Regions from separate parts of the Homo sapiens genome. Here region 1 is linked to region 2. The links are contacts of gene promoters, found by promoter capture Hi-C in blood cells and fetal thymus (Javierre and others, 2016). All regions are on one chromosome and are shown on one strand. The core of a region is centred on a gene start or on the middle of the fragment in contact, and the rest is flanking DNA. Distances in the headings are between cores, read along the strand shown. Region 1 holds the start of MED7 (mediator complex subunit 7). Region 2 holds the start of SLU7 (spliceosome associated SLU7).

The links. Contacts are between HindIII fragments. The CHiCAGO score rates a contact against its expected background, and 5 or more counts as called.
Region 1: the fragment with the promoter of MED7 here is called in contact with the fragment with the promoter of SLU7 in region 2 in 6 of 17 cell types (naive B cells, total B cells, neutrophils and 3 more); the score reaches 14.4 in naive B cells.

The regions. Positions count from the first base shown.
Region 1 is chr5:157,141,431-157,146,331 of GRCh38, reverse strand. MED7 (mediator complex subunit 7) reads left to right here and starts at 3,467. Exons shown (of 2, transcript NM_004270.5): 1 at 3,467-3,512. RefSeq lists enhancers at 2,840-2,939, 3,750-3,799. The HindIII fragment of the contact is 9,177 bases long and covers 819-4,901 here.
Region 2 is chr5:160,415,690-160,421,197 of GRCh38, reverse strand. SLU7 (spliceosome associated SLU7) reads left to right here and starts at 2,117. Exons shown (of 16, transcript NM_006425.5): 1 at 2,117-2,175. RefSeq lists enhancers at 1,706-1,775, 1,786-1,905, 2,356-2,405. The HindIII fragment of the contact is 5,685 bases long and covers 1-4,007 here.

The DNA.
Region 1 (4,901 bases), core at 2,218-4,717, 3.3 Mb after region 2:
ACAGGGATCAGATCAGTGGTTACTAGAGGATGGGGATAAAGGGAAGGAATTGAAATAAAAAAAAGTTGTTTGGGGTGATGAAATATTCTACATCTTAATCCGGGTGGTAGTGGTTTTATGTCAGTATGTATTTATCAAAACTCTTATAACTATTCACCTAGAGTTAATTTTATTCTATGTAAAGTATCCCTCAATAAATCTACATTTTAAAAAATCAATAGGGTGGAAACTAAAAATTTCTGCTTGTAATTTAGGTTCAAATGACAGCGATGTTTTTTATAATGTGCCAAGATCCTAAGGGAGGCAAGAAGTCGGTTACCGTGTGTCTTTGCCCATTTCATCTCCCCTGCTCTTTCTTTCTTTGCTCACTAGCTATGGAGCACACAGGCTGCCTTCCTCTCTCTAATTCAGAAAGATCATGGCAGCCCCACGCTCTTTGCATTTGCTGTCTCCCAGATCTCTGCAGAATTCACTCCTTCATATTTTGTTTCCAAAGTTAACCTTCTGTGAGAGGCTACCCTGACCACCCTGTGTAAAGTAGCTATTCCCCAACCCACGTCACTATCACATTAATCTGTATTATACTTTCCCCCATAGCCCTTACCACTATTCGAAGTTTTTACTTGTTTGTATACTTCTTGTCTGTGTCTCTCTAGAACACCTTCTAGAAAGAACACTTTTTTCAAAGGCCCCACTGGCTTTTGTCTGTCTTTTTAGCCTTCTAGACCAGTGCCGGCACAACAGACACACAATATACAGATTTATTCAACGAGCATATTCCTTGTTAAGCTGTAGTAGGCATCTTTAAGTAATAAGCTTTCCATTGAGATTTTGCCAATATAGTCATATAATTAAATGTTTAACACACATCATATTGTCACTAGCCCTTCTCATGATATGGACTTCATATCCATTATTCATTTGAAGTTTATTGGAAAGAACACTAGATTGATAGTCAAGAGTCCAAGATTCTAGCCTTGATTCTGCTACTAACTGTTAAGACACTGCCCCTTTGGGCCCAGTAATTCTATTTCTAGAAATTTATTTCAAAGAACAAAATTGGACACATGCACAAACATATATGTACTGGGATCTCATCATCCTGTGTAGTTACACTGGATCAAATTTGGAGAAAAATAATTTAACACAATGAGGATCTGGCTAAAGAGACTGTGGTATAACCACCAAAGCCACGCTATGAATTTATTTGAAAGTGATGATTGTATTCATTTTGTTTCTTATTCAATAAACACTTATTGAGTATTTGCCAATTTCAGGCACCGTTGTATGTAGGTTCAAACACAACAGCAGTAAATGAAACAAAGGTCCCATGCTCATAAACCTGATATTTTTGATGGATAAGAAAGGCAATAAAATACATAAATATACTATGTAAGATGATTTCAGATGATGAGAGGTTCTATGAAAAAAAGATAATACATAGTAAGGGTTTCAGGGGCATCTCCCAAGAGAAAGATTAGGGATGCGCTATTTTGCATAGAGTAGTGTAACCCCAGAAGAACTCTTTGAAGTCACATTTGACCAGAAACCTGAATGAATTGAGGAAATGAAGCCGGGCGCGGTGGCTCACGCCTATAATCCCAGCACTTTGGGAGGCCGAGGCGGGCGGATCACGAGGTCAGGAGATTCAGACCATCCTGGCTAACACGGTGAAACCCCGTCTCTACTAAAAATACAAAAAAATTAGCTGGGCGTGATGGCGTGTGCCTCTAGTCCCAGCTGCTGGGGAGGCTGAGGCAGGAGAATGGCGTGAACCTGGGAGGTGGAGCTTGCAGTGAGCCGAGATTGGGCCACTGCACTCCAGCCTGGGTGACAGAGCAAGACTTCGTCTCAAAAAAAAAAAAAAAAAAAAAAAAAAAAAAAAGGAAAGAAGGAAATGAGACGTGTCAATATCTGTGCAAAGAGTTCCAGGCAAATGCATTGGCCCCAAGGCCGGGATGTACTTGGCAATTTTGTAGGGCCTGTGATATAGGCCAGGGGAAGGATGTCAGATTTTATTCTAAAAGTCATAGAAAGCCTTGGAGGATTTTGAATAGAGGAGTGATAAGACCGGTCTTATATTTTAAGAAGGTGTGGTAAATAGACTAAGGGAGGACAAAAAATCAAAGAAGTCCAGGTGAGAGATAATGGTGGCATGGCATAGGACCATAGCAGTGGGAACGGTGGTCAGTCATATTTGGAACTTTATTTACTTATTTTTAAATAGATCTAATGCAAAAGGCTGGTATGGTAGTTTCGGTGGGGTATGTGAGAAAGGAGAAAAAGGTGATTCCTTCGATTGAACATTTGCAATTGAGTAAAGTGCAACTGGGGAAAGATGTCTGTCACCACTGGATATGAGGGTCTGAAGTGCAGAGGAAACGGTGTTCCAGGGCCTGCATGTAATCATCCAGCTGATATCTGACTGAGAAGTGGTTGGAGAACTGAGTCCTGGGGCAATCCATTAATCAAATGTGCCAAATGCTGCTGACAGATGGAGTAAAATGAGGACTGGGAACGACCATTGGAAGTCACTGGTGCAGGATACATTGGGGTCAGCGGTGAGGAGAAAAGCTGGATTGGGTTATGCTCAACGTAGATGGATTTCTTCAGGAAATAAATTGATACGTGCGAGGGATTTAAAATGGGGGAGTCCGGAAGTGGTGGTTCACGCCTACAATCCCAGCACTTTGGGTGGCCGAGGCGGGCGGATCACTTCATATCAAGAGCTCGAGATGAGCCTCGCCAACACGGTGAAACCCTGTCTCTACCAAAAATACAAAAAAAAGAAAAAAAAATAGGTGAAACCCCAACTATTCGGGAGGCTGAGGCACGAGAATCGCTTGAATCCCGGAGACTGAAGTTGCAGCGAGCCGAAATCGCGCCACTGCAGTCCAGCCTGGGCGAAAGAGAAAGACTCCGTCTCAAAGAAAAAAACAACAAAAAAACCCTGCATGTCTATATTTTCGAATTTGTATGTAAGACGTCTTAATTGTATGCGTTAAATTAAAAAAGGACAAAAGGAATGGAACTACCAGCAGCGACTAAGTCAGTAAAAGAGTGGTAATGGGGAAGGGGGTGGAATATACGCAGGCGCAATAGCAAGCGTTTCTTTTGGAGGTTATTTTCGTGTCATAAATTTCTAAATTCACGTTAAGTCTTACAAGAGCATGTTAAACATTAAAACATAAGATTGTTTCTGGTCAATAAGGGGTCTATAAAAAATAAAGCAATAAGGTGTCTTGTTCAATTTTATGCCTTAATTCAAAAAGAAACGAAGAAACGGAACCCTCAGCTACGACTTTTAAAAGTCAGTAACGGGTGGATGGGAGGAGTCAAACATACGTAGGCGCAACAGCGAGGGATCGGTCTGAGGCGGAGCTAGAATTTCGTTAAAGGACAGCTCTTACAGCCAATCAAGGACAGAGTCGGTGGCTTCTTCCCGGAGGAGACCGGAAGTTGGTTTCGGCTGCAGAGGGGAAGGCGGCTACCAGTGTAAAGCCAGAGCTGAGGTAAGTGGGCGGCAACGGTTTGGGGCCGCCGCCTGTGTGCGTTTTTTTCTTCCGGACCCCGCAGCTTCCTCTGTGCTGGGCTGGGAACTGGGGAGGCATGGCTGAGTTCGGCCTCCAAAGGCGGTCTTTCGTCTTTCTCTCCCGAGTCTCTCCGAGAGTGCGGTCTCTCCGAGAGCGCGGAGGCCTCGGGGTGGACAGCCTGGAGGAGGGGGCTCTAAGCGTGGCAGTCTCGGGGCTTCCTCCGTGTTGGGACGCCGAGCCGGAGTGGAGGTTGGGAGACCTGGCGTCTAGTCCCCGCGCCGCTGTTTTTCTAAGCTGTGTGGCCTTGGGCGAGTCATTTGCCCTCTCCGGCTCTTTGTAACATGAGAGTAGCCCTCCCTGCCCTTCCTTCTTCTGGGAGCAGTTATGAAACAGCTGAGGTATGGGGGCAGGCGAGGGCGGTAGATCCCAAGCCTAATCGTCAGGTCCATCTGGAGAGGTTTTAAAAGCGACATTCTAGGGCCCATTCACAGTAGACAGAATGAATCAAATCTCTGGGGCTGGGACCCTGGAATGTCTGTCGTCTTCTGGTGAAGCTCCTTCTCCCCCAGTAGAACAAACACTAGATGTTGGATCTTGAGTTAAGAACCAGCTCTGATGCTTGGCTCTGCTTTTATTAAAAATAAGACCTCCATCACCTTTGAAAAGTTCCATCTAGAGAGACAGTAGAGAAAGAAATATAATTTTTGTGATATGCCAGTCCTTATTGTACAGTTAGATGCTTCTCGGCTTAGGGATATAAGAGAGCTTGCCCTTTGGAGCTAAAGGGACCTGGGATAAGAATTCCTGTTGTGCCATTTATTAACCTTTTGATCTGGGGCAACACTTCCCCTCATTGAGACTTCGGATCCTCACTTCTAAAATGAAATTGATAATAGAACTTAATTCGTGGGACCGTGTGGTGGCTCACGCCTGTAATCCCAGCACTTTGGGAGGCCGAGGTGGGCGGATCACTTGAGGTCAGGAGTTCCAGACCAGCCTGGCCAACATGGTGAAAACCTGTCTTTACCGAGAAATACAAAAATTAGCTGGGCGTGGTGGTGCGCACCTGTAGTCCCCAGCTACTCAGGAGGCTCAGGCAGGAGAATCCCTTGAACCCGGGAGGCAGAGGTTGCAGTGAGCCCTGATGGTACCACTGCACTCCAGCCTGGGAGACAGATTGAGCCCTTGTCTCAAAAAACAAAACTAACAACAAAAACCCCAAAAACCTTAATTCATAGAATTGTTAATGAAGATTATGTTACAGAGGCCATAAAAAATGGTACCTGTCATGTAGTTGGCCTTAGGAAAATGGCAGCCGCAATACAGGAATGCACATCGTGTAGGAAAGTACAGAGCAGCACTCCTCAC
Region 2 (5,508 bases), core at 868-3,367:
CTAACATCTCAATAATATATTAACCAAAGTTGCCTGGAAGGGCTTGGCCAGGGAGCAAGAGAATATCAGAGAGATAATAAAGATATAAAAAAGGAATTCCAATTTCCCAGATATGAAAAGAAATTTTGCTTGAAAAAGTTGACGACCTTTTCCTGTTTCTATAGTAAAATGGAATACATTGAACAACTACAAGATGAAGATATAAATTAAAACATAAGGCTGACCTGTGTCATTCAAACTCCGCTTCCCACAGTTCACCATATATGCATTTTAAGCTGCAGATCAGCTGAGAGAGAGGAGTTGATTCCATATTACTCTTTCACGAAAGGCTTGACACTATACCTGACATAGACATGGTTCTCAATATATGCCAGTTCATCATCTCTTTTTCCCTGGCATTTCAGGACCAATATTGATTGAATGATTCATTCATTCACAAATATTTATTGAATACCTATTAAATGCTGGACATTATACTAGGTTATAAGAAAAGAGCCTAACTTAAGGTGAAGAAAAGAGGAAAGACAGAAAAATATGCATACCTTTATTGTCCCTTCACTGTTCTTTTTCCTTTATCCCCATCCTTTATTTCCTCCTGTATCTCCTAAATTTTACATCATCATATTATATTATCAGCACTCAAAGTGTTAATTTTTAAGACTAAATCTGCACAACACCTATAGCTTCCAAGTGGGGATTCTCTATCTACAGAGGTTTTGAGGTGCAAGGTTTGTCTTAGGATGTCTTCTTTTTTTCACCAACAGAAAGCATTGTTTCTCCTAAGGTCATGCAGCAGCTGTAAACCATAACCACCCTCTCTGAATAACCACTGTTTTCTTACTAATGATGCCCTCAGACCAGCTTTGCTATTCCTATTACTGGAAATACTCAATTGCTAAACCACCCTCACTCATAACAGCACTTAGTCCCTAATCAGTTTCTCCCAATCCTTCTTTACAAACAGCAACCCATCCAGAACCAATCCCGGCTTTCCTAGACCTTCCTCAGAACCCTCCAGAGGGACCTCAAGTCTTAGAAAAGATTCAACTGTCTTGTCCTGCGCTTTCTGATTCCTCTTCGAGATGCGCTCTCCTGGTGGTTTTGGCTAATTAGGCCTTAACACTCCTAAGCAAATTTCAGGAATATTTTTAAGTGGAAAAAAACAAAGCCTGAGTGATTCATAGACTCTATTCACTTTCACGCTAGTCTCTGACACTGTTTCTTCATCTACTGCCCTGTAAAAGCAAAATTAATATTTATGTTCCTAAACTCCAGGTATTGCAAATTCTTAATACGAAAAAAATAGATTCTATTATGTTGGGCTATTTTATTGAGGCAGGAATGGTAGCTACTTTTACTTTTACATTCAAAAAGGATACACGTTATGGGGGGGAGGGGGAGAACAACCAGAATAGAAAGCACAAAGAAAAAAAAAAATCACAAGAAATTCTACCACGAAAATTAGTTTATTTTCCAGTGTTTTATTTCACATGTATACTTTTAAAGAAGGGATGGGATAGCATAGATACTGTTTCTCCAAAATGGAAATTGTCGTATTTTTTTCTAATGATAACATGCCTTATGTTCTCACAGCACCTGGTATTCTTTTCATAGCAACTTTTCACAGCTGCTAAATCTGAATAGTTGTTTCGGTGTCTTTCGCACTCTGATGTAAATCTGAGGGAAGACACTGTTCACCAAATCCCCAGCATGTTACACAGCCTGGCTACTAATTAGTGCCAAGTTTAACTGCTTTTTTTTTTTTTTTAAGCTGATACGTCACCAACTTCCCCATTCATTTCATAGTCCCCTGGTGAGGCTTAAGCTCTTGTCTGTTCTGGTCTTTTTTTTTTTTTTTTAACTTCCTAAAATTCTCCGATTCTAAAAGAAAGCTCCTAAATAGAAGCCAAAAAGTAGCCGCCCAACTTGAAACTCCCCACAAGCCGGGTAAATAGCGCGATACGCAGCAGCTAGAGTTCTCGCGTTTCCCACGGCGCAGGAGCACTGGAGGGCCCCCCTCCGCCCCCGGCCCCGCCAGGAAATTAGTGCGCATGTGCCGGTCATCCGGAAGTTACCGCAGTGGCCGCCGGAATTAGGCGAAAAGCCGGAAGTAAACATTACGAGATTGGCTTGGATTCTGTCGGATGGACTTGGGGCTAGCTGCGGCGGGGCTGGGTAAGAAAATATTGTTAGAACTTGCGGGCGACGGGGAGTTGGGGAACCTGAGAAAATGAGTCGAAGGCTCCTAATTATTGGATATATCTTCACGGGGGTGATGAGCCCTCAGGTGTTGAGGGAGCGAGGACGGGGGACCGAAAAGCCACTGTCCTGAGACCCATTCATGGCACTCGTGCCCTGCCAGGCCAGGCCTGCGTCTTCAGGGAAACAGTCGGGATAACTATGAGAGTGTCGCCTTTGTGGCGGTGCCTCGAAGACCTTGAGCAATCCCCGGACTGCGAGCAGGGAAAGCTGCTTCCAGTACCCAAATTGACAGACTGTATTTCCTCGCCAGAAAAATTTACTTGAGCTTCAGTTTTTCCTGTTAAGTCGAGATGATCCGACTTCAGTGGGGTATCATGCGGGTATAAATGAAAACATCTATGTAAGTAAAGCGCTAAACAGTGTCTTACGTAAGCCCTCAGTAAGTGGGAGCTATTACTGTTTTTAGTTGGAGAAAATAGGTCCCTCCACAGCGACGGAAACTAGTGCGTACAACTTGGTGACTATAATACTTTATTCAGTTTTAGTTTTTAATATTTTAGGCCCAGAAGCCAATGTTCTGTGGACAAGTATAACATACTGGTTTAGAGAACTGACTTTGGAGTCAGAGTTGTGTTTGAAGTCCTTATTTCTTACTACAATGTGTTCTTGGCTGAGGATCTTACCTCTCAGAACCTGTTTCTTCACTGTAAAATGGTGTTCATCAGACCTATCTACTGGGCTTATTGTGAAGATTAGATGAGGTGATACACGGTAGGCTCGAGAAATGGTAGCTGTTTTAATAAAGATTAAATTTACCGTTGTTGTGCTTCTCTTCGCAGTATATTTAGGCCATCAGTTTATATGTTACACAAATATATGTGGAGGTTTTCTATAGGTCAGACATAGAAGAGAACACCTTTGAGAAGCATCGTAGACCCCCAGGCATTGAGCACTTTCCACTGGGAAAGAGCTTGTGTAAAGGCCCAGTGTCTACAGGGAGCACGGTTTGTTAGAGGAACTAGAGGAACTACAAGAAGGTCTATGTAGTTAGTAGAGAAGGAAGCGGGGATAGTTGTAATGGTGAGGCTGGAAGGTAGGCAGGTGCCAGACCATGGTGGACCGTGTAGGTGTGTTAAAAAGATGTCAGTTTTTAGAGTACGAATGATAAAATCCTTTGGAGCGTCATTTTTTTTTTTTTTTTTTTGAGACGTAGTCTAGCTCTGTCGCCCAGGCTGGAGTGCAGTGACGCAATATCAGCTCACTGCAATATCGGCCTCCTGGGTTCAGGTGATTCTCCTGTCTCAGCCTCCCGAGTAGCTAGGATTACAGGTGCACGCCACCACGCCTGGCTGATTTTTTTGTATATGCTTAGTAGCGACGGGGTTTCGCCAGGTTGGCCAGGCTGGTCTCAAACTCCTTACCTCAGGTGATCCGCCCGCCTCGGCCTCCCAAAGTGCTGGGATTACAGGTGTGAACCATCGCACCCAGGTGTCACTATTCGTTATGATAGTTATTAGCCACTTGTGGTTATTGAGACTGGAAATGTGATTAGTTTAAATAAGTGTAAAACCCATATCAACTTTTAAAGACAGAGTTGTTTTTTTTCTAATTCAAATTTGCAATTATAATATGTTGGATATATTACATTAAATAAAATCTTGTAAAAGTAATTTTACCTGTTTATTTTTACTTTTTTAATGTGACTACTGGAAAACATAAAATTACATGTGGGACTAGCATTGTATTTCTCTTAGATGGTGCTGTATTGAATTTTTGGACGGTACTGCATTGGAGGATTTTAAGCTTGGGCAGTAGGACATTGTATTAATCTGTTTTCACATTGCCAATGAAGACATAGCCCAGACCTGCCAATTTACTAAAGAAGTAAGTTTGTTGGACTTAACAGTTCCACGTGGCTGGGGAGGCCTCACAAACATGGTGAAAGGTACCTCTCACATGGCGGCAACAATAGAGAATGAGAGCCAAGCAAAACGGGTTTCCCTTTATCAAACCATGAGATCTCGTGAAACTTATTCATTACCAGGAGAACAGTATGGGAGAAACTGCCGCCATGATTCAGTGATCTCTCACCCGGTCTCTCCCACAACACTTGGGAATTACAGGAGTACAATTCAAGATGAGATTTGGCTGGGGACACAGAGCCAAACCATGTCAGACATGATATGATCAGATTTGTGTTTTGAAAAATTAACACTGCAATGTGGAGAATTGATTGGAGGGAATCAGAAGAGTCCAGTAAGTAGGAAAAAGTAATAACTTACACTAGGGTGGTAGCAGTAAGAATGGAAAGAAGTAGATGCATTTGAATGATACTCAAAAGGTGAAAATAACTGTTCTTAGTGATGAGATAGATGTAGGGATAAGCTGAAGCACTTAATGTAAAGGGACGGATGGTGTTGTCTTTCATTAAGATAGGGAAGAGTAGGAGATTAGATTTCAGAGGGAAGATCATGAGATTGAATTAAGACGTATTGAGTTTAAATGCCTCTGGCCTCTAAGTGGAGATGTCAAGTAAGCAATTGGATATATGTATCTGAAGCTCAGATAAAAAGTCTTGAATAGAAAAATACGTTGTTCCTTTATTATTTTTTATTTTATAGAAAAATAAGTTGGAGAGCCAGCAGTGTTGTATTGTGACCATTGAAGCCTTGGAAGTAAATGAGCTTATCCATTAGTGGGAGTTTAGAGTGGCTTAAAAGGTGCTGACTGAGCCTTGAGGAATCCAACATTAAATAACTGGGCAAAATTTGATGACAAGAGAGGTACAAGAAAAACCAAGAGGGCCAGGCACAGTGGCTCACGCCTGTAATCCCAGCACTTTGGGAGGCCAAGGTGGGCAGATGGCCTGGGGTCAGGAGTTTGAGAGCAGCCTGGCCAGTGTGGTGAAATCCTGTCACTACAAAAAATACGAAAAAATTAGCCGGGCATGGTGGCGGGCACCTGTAATCGAGCTACTCGGGAGACTGAGGCAGGAGAATCGCTTGAACCTGGGAGGCGGAGGTTGCAGTGAGCTGAGATCATGCCACTGCACTCCAGCCTGGGCAACAGAGCGAGACTCTGTCTCTAAAAAAAAAAGAAAAAGAAAAACCAAGAGAATGTAGTGTCAGGGAAGTCAAGACATAATATATAAAAAGGGAAGGAACAGAGCTGAAAAATGTCCATTGGATTTAGCACAATGGTCCTTGATGACTTAATGATGTAACTCTTTTCTTTAGAATGGTAGGGAATGGAGGGCTAAGTTAGAGTGAGTGAGGATGAAAATAGAAGGTGAGGAAATGGAGGCAG